Linked DNA regions of Homo sapiens: region 2 is linked to region 1. Evidence: promoter capture Hi-C in human tissues and cell types (Jung and others, 2019). All regions are on one chromosome and are shown on one strand. Each heading gives the region's core, a stretch centred on a gene start or on the middle of the fragment in contact. The rest is flanking DNA. Distances are from core to core; before and after follow the strand shown. Region 1 holds the start of ZBTB21 (zinc finger and BTB domain containing 21). Region 2 overlaps UBASH3A (ubiquitin associated and SH3 domain containing A).

Region 1 (6,947 bases), core at 4,448-6,947:
GTTGAGGACATGTAGCAGATAATTGTAACAACAGAAGCAGTCACTCTTCACCCCACTTCACAGCTTTGGGGATGTGGAATCCATCTTTTTTTTAACCAAAGGATGCCCATGGTGCAGATCTGAATGCAACGGTCTTCCTTACCTTTCATGATAGCAACTTAAGGAATAGCACATAAGAATTTTCTTAATTCATACAAAGTTTATAATCAAATAGAATTACTACTGTTATTACACACACACACACACAGTCCTCTCCCAATCTTAAGACAAAAGGGTTTCTTAGAAACTGGTGTGGATCTAATGCCATCCAAGTATTATTGGTGGCGTTTGTATGCTGAACTGGAAGGATATCCTCCAGGCATCTGCTCTTCAAGAACAAGGATGGGGTGGCGAGAAGAGAGAGGAAGAGGCAATTACGGCCTTTGGAGAAAACCAGCACTAATGCTTCTGGCTGGGAGGTCCTTAAGCTTAGTACCACTTTTTGTTTATGATAATGTTTACAGATAGGGCTTCTCAATTATGAGAACCCAGTGTGATCAACACTTAATCCCACCCAACTTCAACCATGCTGAAGAGGCACTATGGCCCGGGGCACTCCAGTTCTGAGCACGCGGAGTGATATTCACTGTGAAGGTGGTTGTTGGAAACCATTTACACAGCAACCCAAAGTGTTACTACCTTCCTCACTTTCCCCACTTCCCATTCTCTTCTCTTTTTTCTTTTTCTGTTTCACATACTTTTCAAAGGCCTTCCCATGCCGCTACACAGGAATACTGTTCTTATCTGCAGTAGGCTGACTAATGACCCTTAAAGATATCAAGTCCTGATCTCTGAAACCTCCAATGTTACCTTATATGAAAAAAGGGTCTTGCAGATGTAATTAAATGAAAAGATCTTGAGATGGGGAGATCATGCTGGATTCTCCTGGTAGGCCCTAAATGCCTTCCCAAGTGTCCCTTTATGAAAGAGGCAGAGAAGGCCAGGTGTGGTGGTGCACACCCATAGGCCTAGCTACTTGGGAGGCTGAGGCTGGAGGATCACTTGAGCCCAGAAGTTCAAGGTTACATGAACTATAAGTGCACCACTATACTCCAGCCTAGGCAACAGAGCAAGACCAGGTGTCTAAAACAAAAACAAAACAAAACAAAACAAAACAAAGAAAGAAACAGGTAGAGGGAGATTTGACAGACAGAAAAGAGGTCATGTGAACACAGAAGCAGAGATCAGAGTGATGCAGCCACAAGCCCAGGAATGCTGGCAGCCACCAGAGGCTGAAAGCAAGGCACTTTCTCTATATCCTCCAAGGGAAGTGTGGCCTTGCTCACACCTGAATTTCCATCCCATAAGACCAATTTCGGACTTCTGGCCTCCAGAACTGTAAAAGAGTAAGTTTCTATTGTTTTAACCCACCAAGTTTGTAGAAAGCTATTACAGCAGCCACAGGAAACTAATGAATTTTTTAAAGAGATAACCACCCAACCCATAGATTGGGCAAATCTGGACAGCCAGGTACCCATTCCAATGAAATGATGGTTAAGAGAATCACAGCTGATTAAAACTTCCCGCTTCCAAATATGAAGAAGCAGATATGTTAAACCCCATAGAGACTTCCCTCCCCCAAATTATAAAAGGGCTGTGTTTTTTTTTGTTATAAGAAATGCAAACCAACTTAACAGCATGAACACTGGAGAATCGGCTACCACTGTAACAGTTTCAGAGAGAAAACTCTAGCCATCGGGAACAGATGGCCCAGGACACAGCCCTAGCAACAGGTCCAAAGCTCCGGGCATACACAAGTTAACAGACATGGTCTCTGTGCCAAGGGGCATGCAAACTAGTGGAGAAACCGGCCTTTGAGCAGATGGGAATAGGTGAAATAGATGGTATAGTGGAATCACTGAAGCGCAGAGGGAGGCAGCCTCGGTCTGACACTTGAAATTGGATTTGCCTGCAGATTGAATAGGAAAAGGCCATCCCAGGAAGTGCCTATGCCAGACTACATGGCTAGAGGGGTTGGCAAAGGCGAGGCAAGCAGAAAGCAAAGCCACCTTGGCAGCACTGGACAGGCCATGCCCAGCTATGAGGCCGCAGGCATCTGCAAGCCACATGGGAGGGTGGGTGGGTATACAGCACCAATGCAAGTTAACCCGAGTTGCATTTGGAAAGATAAATTTGATTGAAAACGCACTAGGCTGGGAAGGGAAGGAAGCAAAACTGAGGCAGGAACTTGGTTGCAATGGCTACAGATTGGACAGAGCTGCTGCAGGCCAGAAACAGCTGAAATAAGGCTGGTAAGGACAGGTTTAAGTGGCATTTAAGAGGTAGATTGATAGGACTTAGTGACAGTTGAATGCAGACATTGAGAAATAACCGTCAAGTTTCTGGCTTGGGTAGCAAGGCAGACAGCAGCATCTTTAATTAAGTAGGACACAGTCAAGGATGGAAAAAATGGTTCAAGGGCAGATAGAATGTCGATAGGAAGTCCAGCTGTGAGCTTGCTGTGTGCACAGCTGTGGGTTGTCCGCAGGGTGTCTAATGAGGTGGCTGCATAAACAATGTGCATTTTGTATAAAAGAACATATGTGTCTATGGTGTGAGAGATCCTGTTTGGGGTGCTTCAGTGTACGGCTAACACTAAGAAGTAGAGGGAGATTTGACAGACAGAAGAAGGCCATGTGAACACACAGGCAGAGATTGGAGTGATACAGCCACAAGCTCAGAAATGCTGGCAGCCACCAGAAGCTGAAAGAGGTAAGGAATTTAGACTGAAAGTCAGGCATTGGGCAGGCAGAGGCAAACAAGAAACCTGCAGGGCGGATGAGAGGGTGCTGGCTGGCAAATCCAACATCACCTACACAAGTGGTGTCAACAAAACCTGCACCAGGTGTTATGGGAGCACAGAGGAGGGAGCACCAACCCTAGATACAGCTGAGAAGATGCCAGTCAGGTGGGGTGGGGAGGTGGTGGAATCCTGGAGGAAGAAACACCAATCAAGATGAAATTATCCCATTAAAACAGGGTGGTAGTGGTGGGGGCAATAGCTCAGGCAGAAGGGACAACACACTTGAAGCCCAGAAGCCCAGAGGCAAGAGACAGAGCAAGACTAGTTTAGAGGCCTGCATGTCAGAGTGGAGGTGGGGGAAAGATGGGAGAGGCTGGGCCAAGTCCTCAGGCACTTGTGCGTTGTGGTTTGAACTCTCACCTAGGCAATGGAGAGCCATTAAACCCTATGCAAGGGAGTGGCATGATCCCTTTTGCTGTTTAGAAAAATCGCTTTGGCTGTAATGTGAGAGTGGATTAAAGGAGGAAACCTGGAGGCTGGGAGAGCAGTTAAGCGGTTACGTTACCAGAGAAACACTGAGGAGGTCGGACGGACAGGACTTGGGGATAGACCCAATACTGGAAGTGAGGGAGGAGCCCACCATGGTGCCCACATTCCTGGCTCCAGCAACTGGGCATATGTTCCAAGCATGGATGAGACTGCATAGGGTGTGTGTGCCAAGAAACCCAGTGCGAGCATGGGCAGGGGCAGAAGGGCCAACACAGCCGGCCCAGGAGGAGCAGTCAGCCAAGAGGTGGGAAATCCAGGGAATGAGGCGTAACTGAAGCAATCACTGCTGAAGCAATTGGAAGCGTGTCACAAATCAAAGAGAGCAACTGAAAGATGCAACGGTTTCTGCCAGATTTGGCAGTCAGGTCAATTCCAGTGAAATGGTGAGGCCAAAAGCCTGATCATATAGCTCAAAGCAGAGACACCAATGTGTATCGTCCTGAGGAAGGTTGAAAAAACAAAAAACAAAACAAAACAAAAAAACAGCTAAGCAGGTGGCTAGAAAGGGATCGCTCAAGGGAGGCTGCTTCCAGCATGCGGTAAAGCCAGTACTAGTTTTCTCACCTATAAAACTAGGATAACAGCACACACTCCCCCAGCCTAATCACAGGGGAACCTAAAACTCAAGGTTCTTTTAAGACTTATAATCACTGTTGCCTTCTACCTTCAGAACAGTCACTTTGTGCTTTTCCACCATACAGTTCAAAATACAGACACTCTTTAGGCTGGGCATGGTGGCTCACACCTGTTATCCAAGCACATTGGGAGGCTGAGGCGGGTGGATTGCTTCAGACCAGGAGTTTGAAACCAGCCTGAGCAACATGGTGAAACTCCATCTCTACCAAAAATACAAAAATCAGCTAGGTGTGACGGATGCACCTATAGTCCCAGCTACTGCCGAGGCTGAGACGGGAGGATGGCTTGAGCCAGGGAGTGGAGGCTGCAGTGAGCTGAGATCATGCCACTGCACTCCAGCCTGGGACTGACAGAGACTCCATCTCAGGAAAAAAAAAAAAAAATTTAAAGTGTTTTAAAGTTGTAGGAGAAAATTTTTAGGTGCAAGATTCTTTATGTAAGACTAAGAGTCCTCTTAAAATTAGTCAAACTAATAATCTACAACAGAGCTGTTAATTTGGCAACAAATTTTTAATTTGTATCAATCTAATGTCTGTCTTTCACATACTTCCAAACATTACATAAATTATTTTACCTAGTGCATACAACTTTCAAAAACTGTATTTGGCAATTAACAGACCCCTGACAATTATTAACAGGGGTTTTACATCCCGGAGTTTGAGTGTCTGCGGGAGAACCGTCCCTGCAGGAGGCACTCCCCCTCCACCTGCGACCCGGGCTGGGAGAACGCGCGGAGGGCTCCCTTGAGCGGTCTCCGCCAGCGAGGCTTTCCTCCCGGTCGGTGTTGACAGTGTGGCATTTCTGTTATCTAATTTCTGGTTTTGACTGAAAGCGAAGTGAGTTTTCTCATCAGTGGAGTTGTAATATTTCTGCAAAAAAAAAAAAGATCACAGCCCTCCGATGAGCCGGGCACTATGCGAAGTCTCCGGCTGCCTGCGGGCCGCTGTGGACGCCCCGGCGGGGGTCAGGACCGACCCCCATCTGCGCGGCGAACGAGCCCGGACGCCCTGGCCGCGGCCGCCGGGTCCCCGCCCAGGGGCCAGGTGGCCAGGTTGCGTCGGGAGGAGGAAATGGAAGCGCTCTGAGCGACTAGCGAGCGGCAGGAGCCGCCTCCCGCGGGCTTTCCTCGCGGGCCGGGAGCGTCTGCCGCCGACCCGAGGACCGCAGGGCCCCGCTCGCCGCCCGCGCCCGTCAGAAAGCCGCGCGTCGCTCCCGTCGCTGTCGGGGTCGTCGGCTCGGGGAGTCGCCCGCCGTCCACCGGTGAACGGGAGCGCGTCCTCCCCTCCGAGGGACTAAGCGCTCGCGCCACGCATCCCGCCGCGCCGGAAGCGGGGACTACTGGCGGCCCAGCTGGGCAGGACCGCGGCCGAATGACCCGGGGCGACCCCGCAGCAAGGGCGCCTCCGGCAGGCGGCAAAGTCCCCTGAGAATCGGCGCGCTCCTCGCCGCGACGGACTCCACCCGGCCGGGGCGCTCAGCCTCCTCGCCGTGGCCCCCAGCCCGGCCGCCTCCCCTAACGGCCGCCGCAGGCTCCCCTCATGGACCGAGAGCGCGGGCTTGCAGCGCGGCAGCGTCCGTTCGGCGCGCGGCTCCGGGCAGGCCCGCCCTCCCCCGTCCCCCTGCGCCGCGAGGCCCCCCCCCCGCCCCGCCCTCCGGCGCCCGGCGCCCAATCAGAGTGCCGCGCACGTGACGAGCGATGCCTGCGATGACCTCATCCCTGGTGTGGGATGACGTCAAATTCAAGATGGATGGAATCACAGCGGCAGCGGCGGCTGCGGCGCGCGCGAGCCGAGTGTGAGCGGAAAGGGGCCCGGCGTCTGCCTCGAGACTGAAGACCGGTGAGTAACTGTCACGCCCCTAGCTCTAGGAGAACTGCGGGGCTCCTTGGGAGGCTACAGCCTCCCCGCAAAACGCGGCCTTTCCTGACGTAACTCTGAGGTGATTTCTCTCCTCTTTTTTCTCCACCAGCGGGTTGCGGGCTCCGAGCGCTTCTGCGCGTGCGCGGGACCTGGGCGCTCACCGAGCATGTCCCGGGTTCCCACGTAGCCGATTGTACCTTCACACTGCGCACGCTCCCTGCCAGCACTTGGCCTCGCCCTCGCGAATGCGCATGCTCCATTCCCTCACGGGCTTCACTCTTCACCCTGGCCGAGCTGCCCCTGGGGTAGGGGACACGCCTGGCCCAGGCGCGCGCCCCTCGCGCGGAGCGGTTGAAACGCCTCGTGGAGAAGGGCGCGTTCTCCTGTTCCGGGCAGGGGTTGGGGGCCGGCGGCCCGGGCCGCGGGGTGTGCGCGGAAGCTGGCCGGCGGCCTTGGGGACCCCGCACCTGCCGCGACCCGCCGCTCCCTTCACGGTCCGGGACCTAGCCCCGCCGCCCCGTCCTCGGCCCGGTGGCCGGAGCGTGACCGCTCGGTGCCCGCTGGACGCTCCCTCCCCGCCCCCGGCCCCTCCCGCGGACGCCTGGACCTCACAGCGCGTTTTTTTTCCTCCAGAGCCCCCGCAGACCTTGTCTGGGACTTCCCGGCGGTCCCGCAGAGCATAGCACCCTCCGCCGGCCAGGAGCCCTGCTGCTCGGCCGGCGACCGTCTCCCCGCTTGGAGGAGCCCCCTTCCCCCCGTCCGAGGTCCGCGGCTGGAGGGGCAGGGAGTCAAGACGCCACCCGTGCCGGCCTTAGAGACGCCCGCGGCAGCCCCGCCACATCTCTTCCCGGCTTTTCGGGAACACGCCCCGTAGTCCATCCTCAGCGGCTCCTGCTTTTCCATCCCAGCACACCGCTGGGGGCTCGCACTCTGCCCCCGGTTGCTATGCGGTCCCAGCCACGAGGGCTCTGCGGTTCGGGAGAATTCCGCAAGAGCGCGCGTTCGGAGGCGGGGTGTTTTTAGACAGGTGCCCCGGTGGGATTGCCTGACCGAGAGGACGGGGAAAGTTAGACTTCACACGGCCTGGGGTTTTTCCTTTCGTGCAAGCGCTCACAGCCCTG
Region 2 (6,947 bases), core at 1,959-4,458, 410 kb before region 1:
TCAAATTAACATGCTCAGAGCAGTGAGGCACAATTCATAGCCCCACATTAGCACAGGAAATATTGGTTGGTTTCCCCTTCCTGAGGGCAAGGCGAGGGCACCCACAGCCTCCCTGCGGCTCGCTCTGCAGACAGTAGGGCTTTGCTATCAACTGATGACATCTGTGAGGTTTACAGAGAGAAACGGAGTGCATTTTGCTAGTCTTTCAAATGAAATACAATCAAGATTATGCTGTGAACATGGGTGACGGAAGGAGAAAGAAAAGAGCTTAGCATTTTCACATTTCCATTTTTCTCTTTGACTTAAGAGAGCCTCTTGACAGTAACTTACACCATGAAACAGATGTGTTTGAATTCTCCCTGGTTCTTAAAAGGACATAGCTGCCATCTGGGGGTTGCATCACTACGTCCCTGTGTTCATTTCCTGGGGCGGCCATAACAAAGTCCCACAGCTGAGCGGCTTCAACGACAGCCACAGATGCCCTCATAGTCCTGGAGGCTGCGAGTCTGAGGTCAAGCCACCATTGAGGCTGGTCTCTCTTGAGGCCTCTCTCCTTGGCTTGTAGACAGGTACTTCTCCTCGTTTCCTCACAGGCTGTCCCTCTGTGTGTGTCTGTGTCCTCATTTCTTCTTATAAGGACACCAGACATATTGGATCAGGGCCCACTCTAATGCCCTCATTTGAACTTAGTCACCTCTTTAAAGACCCTGTCTCCAAATAAGTTCACATTCTGAGGTGTTAGGGGTCAGGACCTCCACATATGAATGTTGGCAGAATGCAATTTAGCCCTTAATTGTACCTTTCTTATGTCTGAGATATTTGCTGTAAACTTGCTCTGAGGTTTTTGAAGTAATCTGCTGTGTCTGTCTTCAGTGTTGGGAAAGTCCTCATCTTGACTGGGGGATGGCACTTATTCTCCCGAGCCCTCACACTCAAGCCCCCCTGTTGTTTGTCCCACAGGGGTGCTCCCCTCTGCTCTCCTGGACAGAGGATTGGAAGCTGCTGTGGTTTGTGAATACGGTCCTCCATCACCAGTCTCTCCAGGCCATCTCTGATCTTCAAAGCAATGGACAAACATTACAGTGTGATTTTGCGGTAGATAAGTCCAAAGAATCCCTGCACCGTCTGGCACGGAGGCTGAGGCTGGGGTCATTATAGTGGTGATGGGTGACTGGTGTGTTAATTGACAAGTACTATTCATCAGAGCTGCAGACTCTTACCTGGAAAGGTGCCCTCTGTGGCGGGCAGGGGGATTCCTCCTGGTGCGCCTGCAGGTCTGTTTCCAGGCACTCTAATGCCAGTGGTTCTGCTGCTTGGATCGTGCAAGTGTGAGTCCTGACCAGGGCTCGTAGGAAGTAATTATTCAACATCTGCACAGCTATCTGTCAGTCCGTGGGTCAGCTGGCCTCTGGACATTGCTGTCTGACCCCATTTTCCACTAATGAATATGTCAGTGATGTGTGGAGACATTCAAGGATCATTTTCCGATTTTGAAAGCTTTAGATGTTTAATAAGGATTTTCAGCAGTTTGAAAAGATTTAGCCAGCACAGTGGAGTCCAACAGCTCCCGTCATCTGCCTCACTGGCCCATAAGCACAGATCACAGCTTGTCAGGGTGTCTTGATGCTCCCCCAGCCACAATGAGGGTGCTTCCAAAGCAGGACCAATCAGACAACCCACAGCACCTAGCCCAGTGCTTATTTCTCTTTCCTTTCATTGCAATTTTTGTTAATACTGATTAATTCTCAAGAGAAAGTTCCTCTGGAAAGAATAGTCCCAGAAATGTCAGGCATAAAAGCTGGAATGGTTATGTTGATGGCAGGTGTCTGATGTATTAATTGTGAAGTGAAAAGTATCATAGCCGCTGACTCATCTTCTGCAGAGTCTTTGTGGTTCCTCTGTGACTGTGAAACTCTCCCATCCCGGGCAGAGAGCGAAGGACATGCTAAATGATGCGGGGCCACAGGGGAGCCCCAACCCTCCTGAAATTGAGATGGTTAGTTAGGGCATAGCCAGCATCTCCTCTCTATTCCTTAAACTGTTGATTGGATCAGGTGGTGAACTGAGCTTGCAAGAAAGCAAGAGCTTCCTTGATTGTACAACGTCACCTGGCCTCCTGGGCCCGAGTCTTCTCACCTCTCAAGCAGGGGAGCTGCCTTCGGTTATCTCTACAATCCCTTGTGGCACCCACATCCTGTGATTTTGATGTGGCCCCTGGACCCACGGACATGTCTATGTCAGCAAATTGTGTTTCTCCTGAACCGCTGGTCTGCACGCATCTGGGATGGCCATGACTGTTGGTTGAATGTGTGTCTGTTTTCTCACTGGATGTGGGAAAGCTCGGAGCTGGGAGCTCACAGCGCACGCCATGGTATGGACAAACCTCAGCCCTGGCTTTGTCTAGCTTTTCCACCTTTACTCTCCCTTTGACCCAGCTTTCTTACATTCTCTTCTTGAAATTTAAAATGGATTAATTTATGTTTTGAGTAAGTAATGCATTTATATGCTTCATACATTTAAACATTATGAAATGGTCGTGTTTGAAAAGACTCCCTCCCATTTCTGTTCCATTCTCCTGGCTCCCACTCCCAACACCCACCGGTAACCATGGTTAGAAGTTTCTAGACACTCTCCCTTCCAGGGAACCTTTAGGCATACACATGTATAGAAATACATATTGTGCACATGTATTTACAGACAGTTATGTGTTTCTCTCCCCTTCCCCCACAAGTATATCATGCCATACACATCGTTCTGCAACTTATTTTTTTCATTTATCAATAAATCTTGCATATTTTTTCAAATCAATATATAAAATTCTCCCTTTTAATTATTTTAAAGCTGCAAATATTTTATTGTATGGATGTGTCATAATTTAATTTATGGACTTATTTTTAAATTTTAATGATCTCTTCTATAGGCAGTTGAGGTCATAGTTGAAAGCCCAAGCGTGGGATTAGGTATAAGACTGGAATCCGGCTTCCTCTGCTCACTTGCTGTGTGAACACAGGCAAGTGAGTTGATCTCTTTGTGTCTCAGTTTCATCAACTATAAAATGGATCAATAAAAGTGCCTATCCAGGGGGTATTGGAGAAGTAAATCAGTTAGTAAGGGAAATGCATGGCACAGAGCCAGGCACAGGGGGTGATGTTAGTGTGCAAAGCTATTGGACATCTCTTAAGCTGCCTTAAAATAGATTTAAGTGGATTAGGAGTCAACACATCAATAAATAAAGACGTGTGACTACGGCTGCATTTTTCATCCCACATTTGCATTTTGTGGTCCTAAGTTCTTATTCATTAGGGTAAGAAGTTAAATGGCCTCAAGAGAAGATGATATGGAATGTCATGTATGCACAGCTGTGGGGCTTTGGCTGGAATCTGCTCTCCTTGAATGTCAAGTGGCTATTATGTTTAGTGGGGGAGCCCAGGGACATAGGTACTGTCCCTGGCTTGTTATACAAATCTCAGTGTATGAATAATTAGCAAAAAGAAATATAATACTTAAAGAAATCAGCCATAGTCACCAAATCTCCTTTTATAAATATTTCAGACAATACTTCCATTATTTTTACTACTATTTCTTGCAAATTCTAATCATTTCACCAAGAGCTTCTATCAGGTACTATTAAACCATCTTTTCTTTTCTTTTTTGGGGGTTTGGATAAAAATGACCAATATGCAATCATTTATTTCAGCTCTTCAAAATACGTTCTTTCTTAATTTACTTAAAATGCTAGTCTTATCCACACAGAGGCTTATCCATATAGCCTCTGACAATTTTTAAGCAGCTTTTAATGACTACTCAAATAAAACGTCACAATTTTCATAGTTTTGCCATGTGCATGAATCTCATTAGGAAGGGTACAGAAAATAATTCCCTGGATGTATAGATGCTGGAAATAGAAGTCCACAGCAAATGTCCAGCACAGATCTGAAAATCTATAGATTGAGTAGATGCTGATACATCTGTGTTCAACTTAATGATTTATTTATTTGTCAGGGTGGTGAGGGGAACCCTAGAGAAGCTGTGGAGCATTTTAGGAGAGAATTAAACAAATGAGTGAAATATAAAATGGTTTTAAGACCTCCTGCCTGGAGACAGAGGGATGGCCACGATGGTGTTTTTCCAGGCTCTCTTCCCCAGCCACACAGCTCTGAAGGTGCCAGGAAGCCCAGAACCACAACATAGGGTTTTTCTGTGTATTTCTGCCCTTCTCCTCCCACTCTCATCATTCAGTTGTTCCAACCATCAGTCTTGACACCTGCAAGAGCTCCACCCCAACAGGCACACCCATGAGGCTGAGCAGCTTTTCTCTTTTTTCACCATGTGTACTCTGACCTCTGCCTGCTCTCTCCACTCTCCTAACTGGAACCTGGGAGAAGAGAGTGAAAAAGCTCACAAGAGCCACCTTAACACTTTGCAATGGCTTTATGGTGTGGCAACTTGGCCAGACTGAACGACAGTTCCTAGACTTCCTTTTTAGCACATGTCTGATCAGGGTGGGCTACAAGAGGCATTCTCATGAGAGCTGGAGGATGGAAGGGAGGCAGTAGCCATCCTAAGCATCACACACAGCCTTCCTAGCTATCCCATCAAATGCTAGTCTAGGTGCTGCTGGAAGGAGATTTTACAAATGTGACTAGAACCCCTAATCAGTTGAGCTTAAATTAATCAAAAGCAAGGTTATTCTGAGCAGGTCTGACTTATGCAGTTGGAAGGCATTTTTTTTTAAAAACTTAGGCTTTCCTCACACTCAGAGACTTCAATAGCAGCTGTGTCTGTGACTGCTCTCCCATCACCCGGGTGGTCCTTCCAACTGCCACATGTGGACAACAAGCTTCAGCTTGCCCATGGGTTTTCAGCCTAAGTAGGCTCCTCCCTTCCTGCCTGTCTGCCCTTGCTTAGCTAGCCCCAGTAATTCCATAAGGCAATTCATTGTAGTAAATCAATATAGATGTGTGTATACATATATACCTTTCCATATATATATGTGTGTGATACATGTGTATATAATATAAAATACTATGTATGTATAGTCAGCCCTTTGTATCTGGAGGTTCTGCATTTGTGGATTCAACCAACTGCAGGCCAAAAATATTCAAAAGATTAATCAATTAAAAAATAGCAATACAATTTAAAAAATACAAATAAAAAACAATACCGTATAACAACTATTTGCATAGTATTTATACTGTATTACATATCACAAGTAATCTAGAGATGATTTAAAGGATACAGGGTGATGTGCATAAGTTGCATGTAAATACTACAGCATTTTATATCGGGGACTCGAGAACATGAGGATTTGGGTATCTGTGGGGGTCCGGGAACCAATCCCTTGCAGATAGCAAGGGACAACTGTACATATACTTATATGTATTATATATTGTATGAAAGTGACTGGTTCTGCATCTCTGGTTAAACTTTTACTAAATTTGGTATCAGGAATGGGGTGCTACTCTAACAAACAGTGGATGTTCTTCAACTTCAGATGGGGTTATGTTCCAACAAACCCATCATAAATTGAAAATGCATTTAATGCACCTAACCTACTGAACATCACAGCTTGGCCTAGCTTACCTTAAACACGCTCAGAACACTTACAGTAGCCTATGATAGGGCGGAATAATCTAACACAAAGCCGATTTTATAATCAAGTGTTGAGTATCTCATGTAATTCGTTGAATGTTGTACTGAAAATGTAGCACAGAATGATTGTATGGGCACTTGAAGTACAGTTTCTATTGAACCCATATCACTTTCGTAACATTATGAAATCCTAAGCCAAACCATTGTAAGTTGGAAACCTTCTGAACTTAAAATGTGGAAACAACTTTGGGACTTGGCAGCGAGTAGAGGCTAAGAGACTTTTGAGTAGCACAGCAGAGAAAGCCCAAATCACCATGAACAGACTGCTAGAGGAAATAGGGATGCTAAAGGTGAATCCTCCGGGGAGAACTCAGAAAGGAATGTGACAGGTGTTCCAGGAAATCGGAGCAAGGAGGATCCTTCCCATGTGTGCCAGAGAGTTTAATGAAATTGTCCATGGAGAGCAGGACTTGTAAGCGATGATGTTGGTCACATAGCTAAGGCTATTTCCAAACAAAGTGTTAAGTGTATCACCTGGTTTCTTCATGTTATTTATAGTGAAGCGGGAGAGGAAAGAGATAAATTGAGGGAAGAACATCGAACAAAAAAGAACCAGTATCTGATGATTCTGAAAATCCTTAGCCTCACCAGATGATGCTAAAAGGTGCTAAAATTAAGAGATTCTTCAGCTGATGAAGAAGCAACTCACCAGGAGCCCTACAGCTTCAAGGAAATCACTCCCACCAACAACTGTGTATGCTCAGGCGAGGGTGTGAAGCCTCAGTGGGGAGCCCAGCCCTGGCAGGCACCTTGATTACAGCCTTGAGACCCCGAGCTGAGGACCCAGTGAAGCTGGACTCTGACTCTCAACCCATAAATACCATAAGATAATAATTGCACTTTGTTTTAGTGGTAATTTATTATACAGTCATAGAAAACTAATAATACGACCTAGGACTTTACATTTCATACACGGAGCAGAAGAATAAATAAACCCAAGCTCAGGACCTCTGAGTATAATTTATTATGTGTGTGATAAAGAAGTAGTATTTTGCAGTAATTTGGGGATTACCATCTCAAATTACTCTAATGCAGAGTAATTCATTCTTTTTTGAATGTTATCATCAGAAAACCAGGGACGAACCAAGATGTTTACTATATACCTGCAGGAATAATTTTGTCAGCATACAGAATGCAATTTTACCAATAATGGAATGGTCTAGAAGCACACTGTTGGCAGGTGGGCACTCTCACACAGTAACTCAGAGAGAGATGACGGGGCTGCAGCCAGAGGCAGCACTCACCTGTGCTTCACCCACGTGTCAGACTCACTGGCTCGATCCGTGTAGTTTTCC

Evidence for each region. The method cuts DNA at HindIII sites, captures the fragments that hold promoters and counts their contacts. A contact is called where the count stands out against the background at its distance.
Region 2: a contact is called between a fragment that was not itself captured here and the fragment with the promoter of ZBTB21 in region 1, in 1 of the 25 tissues and cell types used here (thymus).

Annotation. Positions count from the first base shown.
Region 1 is chr21:42,009,110-42,016,056 of GRCh38, reverse strand. It overlaps ZBTB21 (zinc finger and BTB domain containing 21), which reads left to right and starts at 5,697. Exons shown (of 3, transcript NM_001098402.2): 1 at 5,697-5,805. It overlaps ZNF295-AS1 (ZNF295 antisense RNA 1), which reads right to left and starts at 6,863. Exons shown (of 2, transcript NR_119384.1): 1 at 6,473-6,863. RefSeq lists silencers at 4,885-5,624, 6,065-6,374, 6,415-6,524. The HindIII fragment of the contact is 7,901 bases long and covers 1-6,947 here.
Region 2 is chr21:42,418,559-42,425,505 of GRCh38, reverse strand. UBASH3A (ubiquitin associated and SH3 domain containing A) reads right to left here. Exons shown (of 15, transcript NM_018961.4): 7 at 6,897-6,947. Among named protein-coding and RNA genes, the nearest start is that of UBASH3A, 18 kb to the right of the region's middle. RefSeq lists an enhancer at 2,060-2,329. The HindIII fragment of the contact is 5,669 bases long and covers 374-6,042 here.